Regions from separate parts of the Homo sapiens genome. Here all the other regions are linked to region 2. Evidence: promoter capture Hi-C in 16 types of primary human blood cells and fetal thymus (Javierre and others, 2016). All regions are on one chromosome and are shown on one strand. The core of a region is centred on a gene start or on the middle of the fragment in contact, and the rest is flanking DNA. Distances in the headings are between cores, read along the strand shown. Region 1 has its middle 90 kb from the start of RDUR. Region 2 holds the start of ALCAM (activated leukocyte cell adhesion molecule). Region 3 has its middle 190 kb from the start of ZPLD1. Region 4 has its middle 210 kb from the start of ZPLD1.

Region 1 (4,418 bases), core at 278-2,777, 3.3 Mb before region 2:
ATGGACAAATGGATGAATATAATAAAGAGTCCAAAATTAGACATATTTAGAGATAACTGATTTTTTTTTTTAAAAGATGCCAAAGCAATTCAGTGGAGAAAGGATGGACTTCTCAACAAATGGTGGTGGAACAGTTGGATATTCATAAGCAAAACAAGAGCTTTGATTTATATCTTACACTATATGTAAAACTTGATTCAAAATGGGCTATAGATCTAAATGAAAGAACTGAAATTATAAAACTTTTAGAAAAACATAGAGAAAATCTTTTTAAACCTAGATTAGGCAGAGATTTTTAAGATATGGCACTCAAAGCTCAATCTATAAAAATACATTTATATATCAGACAATCAAAATTATAAGCCTTTCTTGAAAGACACTGGTAAGAGAACAAATAAACAAGCCACAGCCTGGCAGAAAATATTTGCAAGTCATAGCTGATAACAGACTTGTATCAAGAATAGTTAAAGATCTCTAAAAATCCAACAATCAAAAAACACCCAATGAAAATTGGAAAGAAGATTTCAAATGACACTTCACCTAAGAAGATCTATAGAGAGCAAATAAGTATATGAAAAGATGTTCAACATCATTTGTTATTGAGAAATGCAAATTAAAGTAACTGACCATAACAAATGTTGGTGAGGATATGGAGGAACTATAACTCTCTTATGCTGCTGATGGGTATGTAAAATGATGTAACCTCTATGGAAGACAGTGTGGGCTAAGCTGAATAGTGGCCCTCAAAGAGGCTTATATCCTAATCCCTGGAGTCTGTGAATCTGTTATGTGGTAAAAGGAAATTTGCAGATGTGATTACATGAAAAATTTTGAAAATTAAAGAGATTATCGTGAATTACTCAGGTGACATCAATGCAATCACAAGGGTCCTTAGAAGAGGGAGATAGGAGAATCAGAGCCAGTAGCTGGAGATGTGAACACAGAAGTATGAGGTTAGAATGTCCTGAGGAATGGGCCATGATCTAAGGAATGCAGGCAGGTTGGAAGTTAAGGAAAGCAAAAGAATTTGCCCCTGAAGCCTCCAGAAAGAACATAGCCTGGGTGACATCTTGATTTTAGACTTTTGACCTCTAGAGCTGTAAGAGACAAATTGGTGTTGTTTAAAGCTGCTCAGTTTGTGGCAATTTGTCACAGCAATATTAGGACTGGCAGATTCTTAAACTGTTCAATATACATCTACAAGTATCCTAGTGCCTCTACTCCCAGATATTTAGGTTAGAAAAATGAAAGCATATGCCTATTCAAAGCTTATATGTGAATGTTTGCAGCAGCTTCATTGGTGTAACTGCCAAAACCTGGAAACTAGCCAAATGTCACAGGTGAGTGGTTAAAGAAATCATGATATATTCATACAATGGGATATTACCAAGCAATAAAAAGAATGAATTATTGATAGACACAACAACGTGGATTACTCAGAATTATTACACTGTTTAAAGAAGCTGGAGAAAAGAGTACAGTATAATTCCACTTTTAAAAATTCTGGAAAATGTAAACTGCAGTGACAGATCAGTATTTGCTTAGAAATGGGGAAGGGTGAGAGAACAGGAAAGAGTGGAAGGGAAGGATTACAGAAGATCATGAGGAAACATTTTGGGGGTGATGGATATGCTCATTGTCTTGATTGTGTGATGGTTTTATAGGAATATACATCATCAAAACTTATCAAATTGTATACTTAAAATATGTGAATTTATTTTATGTGAATTATACCTAAAACAAAAACAATGACAAAGCATACATACCTTTACAACAAAGGTTGTTATGAAGCTTAAATGAGCTATTATGCATATAACACTTGCTAAAATTCCTGACACAGAGTAAGCATTAAATAAAGTCCAGCTGTTATTATTTTTTAGTTCAGAGGGGGAAGTGCTAGAGCAGTAATTGTGAATTACCAATAGTCTTTTGAAAGAAATGTCAAGTCGAATTTCCTCACAGTAGATATGGGAAAAAAATGAGGAACAGATATCAAATTTAGAATTTTATTAAATATATTGCACAAAAATATGTTGCAATAAGAGTGTGGCTTGATAATACTCTTTCTATTTTAGGGTAGGAGCTGTGAAATTCTTTCTTGTTCTTGGTATATAAAGTTTGCTTACTGAGTGGCAAGGGTTCTATCATATTCTTCTTGGACACAGTAGCTGCTTAGCAAATATCGGTCAGATTGAACAGAATTAATAGTCATCTCTGTCTTTCTAATCCAGGAACCTGAAATTCATGGCCACATGTGCTATGCAGTTAATTAACCTCAAAACAATTTTGGAGATTCCTTGCCTCAAGACACTTATTCTTCCCTGATGTAAAATATTTAGGTAATGATAGACATGAAACAGTGACTTATGCAAAGAACATACCTGGGAAACTCCAGAAACTGTAGGGGGAAGTGTCTAGGAGAGGTGAGGTTGGATTTGGCTGGGTTTGGCGGGGTACTTTCATTTCTCATGGTTTCCACATGTTCTTTCCTGAGTGGAGTAGACTCTTCATCAGCCAATAGATATTTGTATCTTCTTCTCTAGTTTTCGTTCTTGCTGGGGGTAGGAGTTGGGTACTGCTGTGTGGAATGAAAATTATTTCTTCCACATTGTGCCTACTCTGAAATTTGTCTCTCACATGGCACTAAGTAACTCCATGCTGGTTGCATGATAGGCCATAGAAAGGTTTAACAGCCACACTTGGTTTCTCCTCCACAGCTAGTTTTATCACACAACATTATCACTTTGAGAGCATATTACTTAATCAATAAAATCCCAAAGTATAATTGTTTGTAACTGGTCAAGTTTACCATCTCAGTGAGGGTAGGACTGTAAATCTTTAGTGTTCTTCAGGATTGACTGAAAAACTTGCCCATCACAACATAGATCTTAATCTGTGGTATAGATCTTAATTAAAAAAATGTTTTCTCATTATAAAGGCACTACATGAAGAAGACACTTTTTATATATAATTAACATATGAAAGATGCTCATTCTCCTTAATAATCAAGGGAATGTGGATCAAAATCATAATGAGACATGACGAAGTTGACAAAGATTTTACTCAAGTGTTGGTGAGGATATGGAGTAAAAACAACTTTAATATACTGCAAGTGGGAGTATGAACTGACACAGTCACTTTGAAAACAGTTTGGTATGCCTGGTAAAACTGAACTTGTGTGTGCTCTTTGATATAGCAATTTCACTGGAAACTCTTCTTGCATGTGTGTACTCAGACATAAAAAATTACAAAAACCCATACATGGATAAGTCGATTGAAGTATATTCATATAAGGAAATACTACAGAGCAGCAAAAATACATGAATTACAGCTACATGCATCAACATGAATAAATCTCCAAAATATAAAGTTGAGAGAAAGAAGGAGGACATGGAAGAATACATAAGCAGATGCTAAATTCCATTTCGAACATGTTAAATGTGAAGTGCTTACTGAACATCTTTGTGGAAATATCCAGGTTATGGGTGGAAATGCGGATCTGAAGCTCAAGATTCAGGTAATAGATATGGGCAGTATTTAATGAAGTGAGAACTGAAGCCATGAGTGAGATGGCAAAGGAGATAGAGGTAAGGTGGGTGATGGTAACCACTCTAATGAACTTCTGAGTTTAGTGAGTGGAATGATGAAATAGAAAAGGAGAGGTTAGGTAGGAAAAAGACATTGTGGTGTCAGAGGCTGAGGGCAGAGTTAGGACAAACTATATAATGTGCAGGGCCTCGAGCAAAATAACATTGTGGGGCTTGTTAAAAATTTATTAGGAATTTCAAAATGGAAACAGGAGAGGCTTAAACCAAACACAAAGTTTTTCTAAGCCTGGGGCCCTGGGTTATTGCATAGATTGCACATCTGTGAAGCTGGTCCTGGGAAGAATTTTGGGAAGCAGCAATCAATGGGGTGAAATATGTCAGAGGGATTGAGAAAAAAGAAGAAGGAAAAAAATGTAAACACTTAAATCCTTTTTGCTCCTCTGATTATGGATGTAATATTCATTATAGAAAATGTAGAAAATATAAAAATGTATTAAAATATCTGTAATTTTATACTCTTAATAACCCTTAATCTTTACTGTCTAACCTTTACTGTTTTTGTGATTTTTTCCCCCACTCACTTCCTGAACAGACACACACCGGCATATCAACATTTTAATTGGCACTGTACTCTATACTTTTTGTTACTTTTTAAAATTTAACAGTGCATCATAGGGATTTCCCCATGTCCTTAAATGTTCTTGGTGAAAATGATTGTTAATTAAAAAAGCTAGATGACTAATTGGTCATTGGTGACTTTGGAGAGGCTGACTTTGTTAGTCAAATGCCACATAAGTGAGGAATAAATGAAAGTTGAAGTGGAGGCATCAAGTATAGACACTTTCAAGAAGTTTGATGGTTGCAAAAGAT
Region 2 (4,955 bases), core at 1,826-4,325:
CTCTGATGCATGACTAAACTATACAATAAATATTATTGGAATACTATGTATTCTCAATTGTAACAAAAGTGACTGTGATCTACATGTAGCTGGAAACACTCTTCCTCTCAAGAATTAGGTAAGATGGATCCAATCCCACATTGACTAGATTTTGAAAGATTAATTCGATTACATTACTTTGTGGAGCTTACATTTTTATGTTTATTTCTAACTCTGAGCTCTTGCTTATGCTACATTATTTCAGTTTAGAAGTGGTCTTGTCATCTCATATGCACTGTATCTGGCCTACGCAGATAGGGTGCGCTGCTTTATTAATAAATTTCCTTAATGAAAATGTGTGTGAAAGGATGAGAGAACTTATGTTTAAATCAATCGCCCCACCAAAAAAACCATACATTTATTGCTACGCATTCTTGATAAGCAAAGTGGATAGTGATGAGCAAAGTAGATAGGAATTCAGTTCAAGAATCAGAATGCCTGGGTAGAACCCTGGCTTTACCATTGCTATGAATCATTGTGTGACCTTGGAAAAGTTGCTTCGAGTCTCTGGGTTTCAGTTTCTTCATGAGTAAAATGAGGATGAAAATAGCAACTCCTTCAATAAATTTTTATGAGGGGAATACATCTATTAATTCATATAAATTGCTTAGAATATTCTAACATGTAAGTGTTGCTAATTAATAGATCTAAAGACCTTTGAACATTTCTAAACTCATGCTTTGTATTGTTGCCTTCGTCCCCACTCCCAGGCCAAATTTCTATTTTCATGGTTATTATTTTGTTTAATATAGAGCCGTTTCACCATTTTTTTTTAATGACCAATAGCCTTTGGAGTTACTAGTCCAAGTGGCTTATCAAGGCATTTTCCTAAACTAGGACACATTCCTTTCTAAAAACAATTCTGGAAGCAGTGGACTACACATTCAAATATATATTATACATATGCCCATATATATATGCATGTGTTTGTGTATAAGTATAATATGTACATATTTGTATAGTCAGTTGCTCCCAGAATTCCACGTGTGTGTTTGTGTGTTTGATCTCATTTGATCTTCACAGCAATCCCATGAGGCTAGCACTATTATCACTTTTTACAAGAAAGGAGACTGAAGCTTAAAGAGGTTAAGTGAGTTGACCAAGATCATACAGTTAGTGTCAGAGCCCAAATCAGTCTTCCTTTTGCAAATCTACCTTTAAGCAATTATGCTGTATTAACTCCCATCGTAAAATAGAGGAGATCAGATAGAGCGTTCGCGGACCTAGGTTAAATATATTGTCAGGTCGATTTATTCTAATACACCCCACTTACAACCACAGTGAAAAAGAAAACAATTCCCTAAAGCAATTCTACAGGAGTCCATGGAAATGCTAGCATTTCAGCCAAGCTTAGCTCAAGGAATATAGAGTTAAAAGGCATTTGCCTCCTAGCGATAGCCTTCCTGTTGATTCATAAGATGCAAATGAAATGTTAATGTTTAAACCAAGTGGGAGAAACTACTTATTTTGAGAGGAAAAAAATATGGTATAAAAGCTCTACTCTAGAATATTGTTAATGTAAGGAGAACTGGAAGAACAGGACAAGCAGGCTTTTGAGAAAAATCACAGCTGAAGATAGGGCTTAATAGTTTAGAGCACTAAAAGATAAACAATTTTAAAAATCAGTGTGTGAGTGTGTGTGTGTGTGTGTGTGTCTGTGTGTTGCGAGTCTCCAATCTCGCTGGTAACTCGCAGTTTTCTGATGAAAGTGCAGTATGTAACGATTACTAGTTGGCATCCTCTGCTGGAGACCAGTCTCACAAAAGGGTGACCCTGTGATGCACGAAAGGCTATTTAATGCCCCAGCGAAGTGCTTCAGGGACCAAGATTTTATTATTCTTTGGTGATGAGAGTTGTGATCCTGCATCCCTGATTTAGAGCCACTTAGGGCTCCGACAGCTCCACCCCGGTGTTCTAGAGGAAAATCTTCCTTCATGCTCTCTGCCTGATTTGAAAGCAACACAGCTTCCCGATGTTCCTCCTGGGAGGTGGTTCAATCTTTAGAAATTGCCTAAGAAGCCTGTCCATCTGCTGGAGTGCCTGGCTTTCGGGAACGGACCAAGACGGACTTGGCTTTTAATCTGAAATAATTTGAGGATTTTCTGTCTATAACTTAAAATCACCGCTTAACTCAAAGTAAAAAAGTGACACGCTCTCTAGAGGGCTTTTGTAGACATTGGGAAAATCCGTATGACGAAGTACGGTTTAGAAATTCCGGATTTAATTTCCCCCGGGAAAAGCAAATATCTTCTGTTGGTACCGGGCAGTCGACTCACGTAGTCTTCCTTTAAAACCAAGTCTATGCCAGCCGGGTGTGAGGGGAGTGGTGGGGGTGAGCAGGGGGAGGAGAGAGATTCGAAAAGTACAGGAGGAATCAGTCCAGTACAGGGGTTGCCCCTGCCAACAAGTAGCTATTCCTGTTAACTCCCAAGAAGCAAGTTTCCACCTTTGCCACTTCCTCCTGCCCTTTCCTTTCCTTTTCCCTTCACTCCCGCTCTTGGACCCAAGGTTCGCTCCCCACCGCCACCGCCCTGCCCCACTATTCTCTTTACAGGACAGAAGGCTGCAGCAGCACGGCGGAGAAAAATCTCTGAGGAATGAGTCAGTGGGATGGGCGTATGGGTGGAGGGAGAGGGCAGTCGATTTTTAAACCTCAGCGAGGGTGGGTGGGCAGTTGGAAGCCAGAGGCCTTATCACTGGGGCGCTGCAACATCACAGAAAGTGTTAGTCCCAGGGCTCTCCCTGGCGCGCGCGGCTCCTGTGCTTGCTTCTTATTGGCGGACCTGGCCCTGGGGGCGGAGCCGCGGTGAAGCACCGCTCATCCGGGCTCCAGGACCGGGGCACGCGGTTCTCCCTGATCCCGGAGCTGGGCTCAGGGCTCGGACTCAGTCCTGCAGCGCCTCTAGGCTGCGGATCCGCGCTTCAACCACCTGCTTTGCGCTGCGTCCGGGGAAGTGGGGAGGAGACGGGAGGGAGGGAGGAGGCGGGGAGAGGAGGAAAGAGGCAGCTTACACACGCCTTCCAGTCCCTCTACTCAGAGCAGCCCGGAGACCGCTGCCGCCGCTGCCGCTGCTACCACCGCTGCCACCTGAGGAGACCCGCCGCCCCCCCGTCGCCGCCTCCTGCGAGTCCTTCTTAGCACCTGGCGTTTCATGCACATTGCCACTGCCATTATTATTATCATTCCAATACAAGGAAAATAAAAGAAGATACCAGCGAAAAGAACCGCTTACACCTTTCCGAATTACTCAAGTGTCTCCTGGAAACAGAGGGTCGTTGTCCCCGGAGGAGCAGCCGAAGGGCCCGTGGGCTGGTGTTGACCGGGAGGGAGGAGGAGTTGGGGGCATTGCGTGGTGGAAAGTTGCGTGCGGCAGAGAACCGAAGGTGCAGCGCCACAGCCCAGGGGACGGTGTGTCTGGGAGAAGACGCTGCCCCTGCGTCGGGACCCGCCAGCGCGCGGGCACCGCGGGGCCCGGGACGACGCCCCCTCCTGCGGCGTGGACTCCGTCAGTGGCCCACCAAGAAGGAGGAGGAATATGGAATCCAAGGGGGCCAGTTCCTGCCGTCTGCTCTTCTGCCTCTTGATCTCCGCCACCGTCTTCAGGCCAGGTGAGCAAGGGCCTGGGAGCAGCCCCAGACAGACGTGGGCCTGGAGCAGTTTCCTAGGTCCCCGTCCCAGCCTCGCACCCCCGAGGCAGTGCGCCCAGGCGCGTGGTGGAGGTAAGGGGACCGCTGTCCTGGCACAGAGCTGTCCCCGGGCTCGGTCACCTGTGCCGCACGTTTGGGCTTGGCTGGTTAGCTCAAGTTTGGGCATCAAGCTGGGGAAACTGGGTGAATCTCCAGGAACTTGGTGCTCCGGGGTGGGCAGGATTCGCCTGACGCTCTCCCCTTGTCCCTGCGGCTCCCAGCTAGGCGGCGGACTCTTGCCCTCTGACAGTTCCTCCTGTCTCTGGGTATCCAAGTCCACGTCACTGCGCCCCGAGCAGTTTTTCTTTCGCTTAGTTCTCGGATGAAATAACTGCCGGCACTTTTTCGTGATAAATCCCCTAGTAACTTCCCCTTGGTGAGCCGAGGAAGGGATGGGAGGGGTAGAGAAGGAGAGGACTTTAATCACCTCCCCCCGCCCCCCTTGCGAAACCTGCTAAAGCTTAAAATCGTGGTTTCAACGTTACCCCCTGCGGTCCCCGTCCATTGTCTGGGCGGGTGGTGAGTGAAAGGGTGACCGCAGGCAGATAACACAGCCAGAACAGGAATTAGTAGGTAGGCCTGGGAGACACCTCAGTGAGAGGTTTGTGAATTTCCAGGACCTGCTCATAGAGCCTCAGTTCTCAGTTCTGTACTGAGTCTTGGAAGAGAGAGAGAGAGAGAGAGAGAGAGAGAGAGAGAGAGAGAAAAGGCAAAATTCCCAACAACTAAAATATCTCTCGGGAAATCCCTTTCCACACCCTCGGGGACGTCCCCTGGCCCTGGTATCCTCAGGCCCGCCTGGCGGCTGACACAAGTTGTTCTAACAGGGTATTCCGTGCGCTCACAGTTGCCTGACAGAGCAGCAGGTTCCTTTGCTCCCCTAAACTGAAAATTTAGGGGATTTTTTTTTCTTTGAAGTTTTTTTTTTCTATCCCTGCGTAGACAGTTGCCAGTTAAACTCCTACTTCCTGGTATTTTGGCCTGTTTGTTCTTAGCTTTTTCTTTAGCTTTTATCAAAGAAAAATCTCACTTCCTTTTATCCGTGCACATCCCTTCAGCTGTCGGCAAGCTCAGGTCACAGAAGAGGTTTGAAAGCCTCTGAATCTCTCCCAGGAACTGGCGGGGAGAGGGGTTTGGGGGCCAGAGCCTGAGGAAGAGATTACAAGTGTTTGCGAGCTGCTGCTGCTGCTGCCGTTGCTGTGTGTGTGGGCGGGAGGAGTGCCCTCTCC
Region 3 (4,452 bases), core at 1,014-3,513, 3.1 Mb before region 2:
GGATTCACTGGGTGTCACCTTAGGATCGGTCTGCCAAGCTGCCCCCAACACCAAAATCAACCATCAGGCCATTAATGGCTTAATACTTCTGGAGGTCAGAAATTATAAATAGTGATAACTGGGCTTATATCAGGGTATTGGCAGGGCTGAACTCCACTTTGGAAGCTCTAGGGAAGAATTCAAATTCTTGTCTTTTCCCGGCTTTTAGAGCTTGCCCACATTCCTTGGCTTGTTGTATCATTCCATCTTCAAAGCCAGCAATGACCAACTGAATCCTTCTCACATCGTTTCATTCTGACACTGTCTCTTCTGCTCCCTTCTTTCATTCATAAGAACGCTTGTGATTGTATTGAACCTACCTGAATAAATCAGGATAATCTCTCTATCTCCAGACCAGCTGATTTGCAATCTTAATTTCATCTGCAACCTAAATTCCCCTTTGCGATTTATTTGATAATATTCACAGATTCTGGAAATCAGGAACTAGACATTATGTTTTTCTAGTGATGGTGGTTGGGGGATGACATTATTCTGTATTCTATACTAGCATAGGGCCTGGCTCATATCAAGAGATCAATAAGCTTTGCAGAATGAATGGACAGGGTCTGTAGGGAGTGTGGCTTGGCTATAGGCAGTCAGAATGACTTTGAAAGCAATGGTGATTGAAGAGGAATTGGAGGATGCTGAGGGAGAAATTTCTTGGTAAGAGTGGAGTGTTTCAGCCATAGGGCCTGATGGTTGATTTTGGTGTTAAGGGCAGCTTGGCAGGCTGACCCTCAGGTGACACACAATCAATCCACTTCCTAGTGTTCACAGCTGTGTGTAATACTCTCCCTTTGGCTTTGGGCAGGAACTATTAGTTGCTTCTAGGCAATAACATGAGACAATGAGATGGCACTTTCATGCTTAGGTATTTACATAGCAAAGGTGATGGATGTCATTTCTGTGACTGCTATAGATTATATGAGTTCTGGAACTGGAGACTCCTTGTGGGCCTGATGAAGTAAGCAGTCATGTTGGAGAAGCCAACACTGCAGGGAGCCTTTAGGAATAATGGGAAGCTTCCGGGACCTGGAGGTGACCTCCAATCAATAGCCAGCAAAAAGCCAGGGCCCTACGTATTATAGCTACAAGGAAGCAATTTCTATCAACAACTTCAATGAATTTGGGTGCAGATTTTTACTCATTTGAGCTTCCAGATGAAAATGCAGCCCAGCAGCTTTGTAAAACCCTGAGCAGGGGACCCAGTTAAGCCATGCCTTGACCTAAGGAAACTGTGAGATAATAAATGTTTTGTTTTAAGCTACTGAGATTGTGGTAATTTGGATTCGGCAATAGAAAACAAATGCCAGCAATTTGGGAATTACGGAATAGATGGCAGTAGGAGCTGCCCTGCTCAGGCTTATGGGGGAAAGAGTTCTTGACTGTATGTTTACCTCCATTTTACAGCTGGAACTAATGACGACGAGCAAGCCGAAACTCATTACTCTTGATTCAATGGTTAGTGAAAAAGATGGGAAGAGAATGTATTATTCTGACTTCTGCTGGAATTCCTTCCAACCCTTCCTGGGGCCATTGATTCTCTTGGAATTGAAGTTCATAGCAGGAGACTTTGCTTCATTAATCCTCACAGCAGAGCTCTAAAAGAAGTCTTCTGGAAGCCTTGTTGGGATTCTGTTTTCTTTCAAATAGAGTCACAGAGTCACAGAGAGATCCCACCTAGCTAAAAGTTACAGTAAAGATTTAGGTAAATAGCTGGGCATGGAATGAATAAGATTAATTATGCTTAGCAGTTATTATAATTACATGCAGGCTTTTGAATATACTGCTTAACATTCCTACACTACTTAAAAAATTATCTATAAAGATCAGTCAAAACTCAGCTTTAAAAAAATGTATTTGAAGGATCTATTTTAAATTTATCAATAATATTTAGGTGAAGATTTTAACACATGTAAATGATTTCAAAAATTCTTTGACCTAACCACTTTCCTCATTTCACAGGTAGAGTTATTGAGTGTGGAAAGATTAAGTGAATTTTCCCACATGGTTACACAGCTAATTCTTACTAATCCAGTTTCCAAGATTAGAGTTTCATATTGTTTTCACCTATAAACTCTACAATAGGGATTTATGGAAGATAGTAACAGTGCACTAAGTTCACACTCCTACCTTAAACAGAACCACATATATCTTAAGCATCTCAGACCCATAATTATCTGTTTTTCTAAATAATCCTAAAGGAGGTAATATTCCTTGGTGCTTTAGCTTCAACTTCAATTAATGTCTACTGGCATTTTAAATAATCATCATCCTTATATTCCTTGGTTAGGTATTGGTTATGGTCTGAGGTGTGGTACAGGCCTGTAAATTCTTTTGTTTTGGGTGGGACCAAGGACAAGGGGATTGAGGTTATATCATCTTTGCCTGAGTTGGGGCACCAGGTAGAAATCTGTTGCAGATGACTTGCCCAAGAGCATACAGCTAATTAGTGACAGGCTTAAAACTTGGAAGCTCTTAAATATCACAACTATTATTTGTTTGTTTGTTTTTCTTGATTTTGTATATTTGCTACTGCTACACTGTTTATCTACCACACTCGGTCATTGCCACAACACAATACACACACACATACACATCTTTGCTCTTCTACTAACTTCCTGGAGTTGGTGGTGGTGCTGATAGTCATGGCATACGTCCACAAAAATATTTTGAATGCTCATAATAGCGGCAGTGTGGTTAAGTAGAAGAATCAGGTTTTGACTTACTACAGGGAAACTGAATCTTCTGAGTCTCAGTGTCCTCATCTATAAGCTGAAAGCAAAGAGTTAATAGTGAGAATAGGTGTGGGAGCCTCCTGGGGCAAGGCTGGGATGGTGGGGTCCAGTGTTTATGTTGCTGGGAGTATGGCTACCTTGGAAGTCGCAAGTGCTTTGTATATTCCAAAGTGTTTCTCTCTCTCTCTCTCTCTCTCTATATATATATATATATATAGTGATATATATAGTGATATATAATGATATATATATTTAGTGATATATACAGTGCTATTGTTACTCCATATCAGGCATTATGATGAATGCAAGAGAAATATTGTCAGATATATAGTCCTTGCATTCAATAAAGGTATACTGTAGTTATAATCTCAGGATATAAAGGGTATAACAGGATGGAATATGCTGAGTGGCCAGTGCATGGCAAAGATAAATACCTAGAGAGAAGTGAGATGGCTATGAAATGGACAATTGAGATGACTATGAAGTGGACAATTGGGAAGACTTTGTGGAGAAGTGATGACTTGAGCTGGGTCATGAAGGACATGTAGCAGACAACAAGGCACCATCTTAGGCAGGTGGAATGCATCAAGCAAAGGCATGGAGGTTGCTCAAGGAGTGGCTAATATACAAAAGAGGAAATGTGACAAATATTTACGGAGTAGAATTAAGTCAGAGCAGATATTTACATCAAAGCTTAGAATTTTATTATGCTGGCAACAGGGAACCACAGGTGACTTTTGAGCAGACGTAGTCTGTCCAAAGTGAACAGCTTTGGACAGGTTTAGGAAGCTTACTTTTGCAGGAGTGTAGATTGGTTTCTAGTAGGGAATAAGGCAGGGAGAGCTGCTTATTCTTTTTTCTCCTCAGCAGTTGTGGGGCAATTGGATTGCTGCTTTCTAAATGATAATTAGAAAAGTGTTGAGATTATGTGAGGCTCTCCTTGTTTCTGGAGTACCAGATTTCTGGAGTACCCTCGTCTCCCATCCCTGCATAGGCCTCTAAGTCCTGCTCCTCACTAAACACACAAAACCTCAAGGCTGATTGCCTGGTGTTAGTTTTGAGTCAAATTATTTTAATGACCAGCAATTACATTACAGAGCCACTGATAACAAAAGCTCATTTTTTTTTCTCAAGGTACAAGGAAAGGAGAAAGAATCTTGAAGTCTCATAAGAGAAAAGATCTTTTTTTCCTGTTCCTCTCCCTCCTCCGAACTTCCACCCTCCAAAAGGCCCCAGTGTGTGTTGTAAATAACTAATGGGTACTAGGCTTAATACCTGGGGGTGATGAAACAATCTGTACAACAAACTCCCATGACACAATTCCACCTGTGTAACAAACCTACACTTGTACCCCTGACCTTAAAAGAGATCTATTAAGGAAAGGAGACCTATTGCATCCATTCCTGACCGAGCAAGATTTTTTTTTCTTCTCTATCTGTTGACCATGTTTTATGTATTTTCAGTTAACTGTCTGATCAATGACTATTTTACTTCTTCTAGTGGAAGTATTTTCAATAGGTTGTTTCACTTATTGCCATTGACATTTTTCTGCTTTTCAACCAGAATATGTATATAATAATTTGCTAATATTTTTGTGCCTGTTTATGTAAAAAGTAGTATTTGAGTGACTATAAAAATAATATTCTTATATTAAGTACTGTCCACTTAAAAGCTA
Region 4 (4,430 bases), core at 1,658-4,157, 3.1 Mb before region 2:
ATCTGCTGTTAGTCTGATGGGCTTCCGTTTGTAGGTAAACTGACCTTTCTCTCTAGCTACCATTAACATTTTTTCCTTCATTTCAGCTTGGAGAATCTGATGATTATGTGTCTTGGAGTTGCTCTTCTCAAGGAGTATCTTAGTAATGTTGTCTGTATTTCCTGAATTTGAATGTTGGCCTGTCTTTCTAGGTTGGGGAAGTTCTTTTGGATAATATCCTGAAGAGTGTTTTCCAACTTGGTTCCATTCTTCCCGTCACTTTCAGGTATACCAATCAATCATAGGTTTGGTCTTTTCACATAGTCCCCTATTTCTTGGAGAGTTTTTTCATTCCATTTTATTCTTTCTTCTCTAATCTTGTCTTCATGCCTTATTGCAGTAAGTTGATCTTCAATCTCTGATATCCTTTCTTCCATTTGATTGATTCGGCTACTGCTACTTGTGTGTGCTTCACAAGTTCTTGTGCTGTGTTTTTCAGCTCCATCAGGTCGTTTATATTCCTCTCTAAACTTGTGATTCTAGTTAGCAGTTTCCGTAACCTTTTATCAAGGTTCTTCGCTTCCTTGCTTTGGGTTAGAACATGCTCTTTTAGCTCAGAGGAGTTTGCTATTACCCACCTACTGAAGCCTACTTCTGTCAATTTGTCAAACTAATTCTCCATCCAGCTTTGTGCCCTTGCTGGAGAAGAGTTGTTATCATTTGGAGGAGAAGAGGCATTCTGATTTTTGGAATCTTCAGCATTTTTGTTCTGTTTTTTCGTCATCTTTGTGGATTTATCTACCTTTAATCTTTGATGCTGATGACCTTTTGATGAGGTTTTTGTGTGGGCATCTTTTTTGTTGATGTCAATGTTATTGCTTTCTCTTTGTTAGTTTTTCCTTTAACAATCAGGCCCCTCTTTTGCAGGTCTGCTGGAGTTTGCTGGAGGTCCACTCCAGACTCTGTTTGCCTGGGTATCACCAGCAGAGGCTGCAAAACTGCAAAGATTGCTGCCTGCTCCTTCCTCTGGAAGCTTCATCACAGAGGAGGACCTGCCTGATGCCAGCCAGAGCTCTCCTGTATGAGGTGTCTGTCCACTCCTGCTGGAAGGTGTCTCCCAGTCAGGAAGCATAGGGGTCAGTAACCCACTTGAGGAGGCAGTCTATCCCTTAGCAGAGCTTGAGGGCTGTGCTGGGAGATCTGCTGCTGTCTTCAGAGATGGCAAGTAGGAACATTTAAGTCTGCTGAAGCTGCGCCCACAGCCACCCTTCCCCCAGGTGCTCTGTCCCAGGGAGATGGGAGTTTTGTCTATAAGCCCCTGACTGGGGCTGCTGCCTTTCTTTCAGCGATGCTCTGCCCAGTGAGGAGGCATCTAGAGAGGCAGTCTGGCCCAAGCCACTTTGTTGTGCTGAGGTGAGCTCCCCCCAGTCCGAACTTCCTGGCTTCCTTAACACTGTGAGGGGAAAACCACCTACTCAAGCCTCAGTAATGGTGAATGCCTCGCCCCTGACCAAGCTGGATCACCCCAGGTCAACTTCACACTGCTGTGCTGGCAGTGAGAATTTCAAGCCAGTGATTCTTAGCTTGCTGGGCTCCATGGGAGTGGGACCTACCGAGCAAGACCACTTTGCTCCCTGGCTTCAGCCCCCTTTCCAAAGGGGTGAACGGTTCTGTCTCGCTGGAGTTCCAGGCAACACTGGGGTACAAAAAAAAGACTCCTGCAGCTAGCTTGGTGTCTGCCTGAACAGCTGCCCACTTTTGTGCTTGAAACCCAGGGCCCTGGTGGTGTAGTCACCCGAGGGAATCTCCTGGTCTGTTGGTTGCAAAAACCGTGGGAAAAGTGTAGTATCTGGGCCGGTTAGCACAGTCCCTCACAGCTTCCCTTGGCTGGGGAGGGAGGCCCCGGGCCCCTTGCACTTCCTGGGTGGGGCAACGCCCCACCCTGCTTTTGCTCAACCTCCGTGTGCTGTACCCACTGTCTAACCAGTCCCAATGAGATAAACCGGGTGCCTCAGTTGGAAATGCAGAAATCACCCAGTTTCTGCGTTGGTCCCGCTGGTATCTGCAGACCAGAGCTGTTCCTATTCAGCCGTTTTCCATAGATAATATTTAAAACTTGGAGAATAAAGGAGACAAATGAAAGAGAGACCACAGAGTAAGAAAAGAAGAGTTGCTCAGGACTAAGCCTGACCAACCTAATGTTCCTGAGGAGAATGAGAAGAAGGGATCATGGAAAAATGAGGGTGTAGTGCTACTGAAACTCAGAGACATGGCTCAAGAAAGCAGTAAGGTGTTGAATGCTGATGAGAGGTTTAATGCGATGAAAATTGAAAACTGCTTAACTAGTCTGAGACTGTGATCCTCCACTTGTATATGTTCTGCTTTAGGGAGAGTCACCTAATGTATTTGGATTTCAGTTTCATCATCTATAAAATAGTTGTGCTTGTGAAAGGCGGTGTTGAGTGCTGTGAAAGGAAGGGGTTTGCTTGGGAAGTGTCAGACATTGCATCGGACAATGCAAGATGGTTAAGTGTGGAGGTGAGGGTGGAGCAGATGATCTACCAACTCTAAAAATGTATGAAATATGAGCCAATGTATAGGATGATAGTATTTAACTTTACAGAGTAGATGAAAGGATTTTCTGTATCACTCGGTAAAGTACCAAGTACTAGGTAAATACAAAGTGTTATTTCTGTTTACTGAGAATATACTTATCAAAGGGAATTGAGGATTTGTGGCAGCTGTTTTAAGATAGACATAGGCTATAGCCATGATGGGTGATCTCATATAGAAGAAGCTGGAGGCAGAATTGTCAGGTCTGTGAACCCAAATATTAGTGCATCAGCACCTTAGAAATTAAGAGGTCCCTGAGGTTTTGAGATTGGCATCTGGTCTTCTTGAGTGACAGCCACTAGGAGATATTGCCTTGTTCTCATACCACAGAACTATCTGGATAATCTGAGGCCACCTGCTGGGTGGTCAGGCCAGAACATCCATCCTTTTGGTACCGCTCTCAGAATTGCTCACTCCTGCCCGCTACCACAAACATTTAATTTTATATAGGGGAGATAGTGGAAGGGGAGGAGGATCCCTGTTCCCCAGGGCCTTGCCACAGAAATAATGCCGAGGCTTCCACTGCTTCCTAGTATGTCATGCAGGGAGAAATCACTGGGTCCTCATGAAGCAACCCTATGCATTTGGGAACCTCATGTACAATGAATGCTCAATAAATACTTGTTTTTTAAAAAAGGGAATAACTAGCAATTCGTACTGTGTGTATTAGTGGGAGGCAAGGCTAACCTTTGCCGTTGGCCTATGGTGTCGGCTCTGTGGGATGATTTTGCAAATGTTCTGTTCCCACATTAGTAGCTTTCCAGATGATTACAATTCTGCTTCTAGAATTCCACCCTTTAATAGGCATTGTTCTCAGACAAAATGCAAGTGAGAGCAAAATCACATCATTAGTTTTTTATATCTTACTGCATTTGAATTATTTGGATGTCTCTTGAGAGCAGAGTTTGAAATGGATGCTGAGAAAGCCGGGGAGCTGAAGGAAGGTGGGAAACTACACAGAAAACGGCAGCTACAAATATCTAATTCTACAGGTTTCACAGTTGTGCCTAACACTGGTCCTGATCAGTAGCTTTGACAAGGCACGTACCTGAGGACAATGTGTGCCCCCTCTCCTTCTTTCTGTTTTTCATTAATTCCTTTATACTTCGCTTTGAATATGTATTGTGAGTCAGATGCCCCGCACATAATCACATGTTCTTAATACAGTTACACCCAGATGCACAAAGAGTTTGCAGGTAACGTTTTCAGTCTCTCTCAGCAGCTTCCAATTTTGTGCGACTGATTGATTAACACAGTAACATGAGCAAACACGAAGTACCAGAGCTTCAGGTGACACATTTAATTAACGACATTCAGGCAAGCAAAGAAAGATAAGCATTCTGGTAGCAGCCAATTACAAATTACAGATTAATGAATGTAATTTCGGGTTTCAGAGATTTTCCTATTTTATTCTAACACTGGGATCAACATTCATCAGCTCAGAAGGGGGAAGGTGCAGGCCTGCTAAGCAAGGTATCAACCTAAGGATAGCTTTTGCTTTTGCTCCAGCTCCATGTCTGATCAGATAGAATTACCAAACTTAATCTGACCTCTAGTGGCACTTTGCATTAACAAGCACATTTGAAATCCACTTAGGAATTTTGCTGTGAGAATTCTGCTATCATCCCATCTTACAGCTGGAAGGAACCTTAGAGATGATCTGCTTGGCAGGCTTCTGCCCACTCCCCTATTTTACAGATGAGGAGACTGAGGCCTGGAGATATTGATGGGTGATGATAAAAATTGAATAGCTAATTGATAGAAAAGTCAATGATGACAGAATCCAAGTTTCTAAAAAAATTTAATTGTAATTTTTGTGGTAGGTGTATACATTTATG

What was found. Contacts are between HindIII fragments. The CHiCAGO score rates a contact against its expected background, and 5 or more counts as called.
Region 1: a fragment that was not itself captured here is called in contact with the fragment with the promoter of ALCAM in region 2 in 1 of 17 cell types (monocytes); the score reaches 8.3 in monocytes.
Region 3: a contact is called between a fragment that was not itself captured here and the fragment with the promoter of ALCAM in region 2, in 1 of 17 cell types (naive B cells). The highest score is 5.3, in naive B cells.
Region 4: a contact is called between a fragment that was not itself captured here and the fragment with the promoter of ALCAM in region 2, in 2 of 17 cell types (total B cells and naive B cells). The highest score is 6.7, in total B cells.

The regions. Positions count from the first base shown.
Region 1 is chr3:102,028,862-102,033,279 of GRCh38, forward strand. No RefSeq gene overlaps it. Among named protein-coding and RNA genes, the nearest start is that of RDUR, 90 kb to the left of the region's middle. The HindIII fragment of the contact is 523 bases long and covers 1,267-1,789 here.
Region 2 is chr3:105,363,834-105,368,788 of GRCh38, forward strand. It overlaps ALCAM (activated leukocyte cell adhesion molecule), which reads left to right and starts at 3,076. Exons shown (of 16, transcript NM_001627.4): 1 at 3,076-3,648. The coding sequence starts at 3,576. RefSeq lists silencers at 3,021-3,120, 3,451-3,570 and an enhancer at 4,601-4,760. The HindIII fragment of the contact is 2,798 bases long and covers 1,387-4,184 here.
Region 3 is chr3:102,241,348-102,245,799 of GRCh38, forward strand. No RefSeq gene overlaps it. Among named protein-coding and RNA genes, the nearest start is that of ZPLD1, 190 kb to the right of the region's middle. The HindIII fragment of the contact is 2,409 bases long and covers 1,060-3,468 here.
Region 4 is chr3:102,221,455-102,225,884 of GRCh38, forward strand. No RefSeq gene overlaps it. Among named protein-coding and RNA genes, the nearest start is that of ZPLD1, 210 kb to the right of the region's middle. The HindIII fragment of the contact is 3,795 bases long and covers 1,011-4,430 here.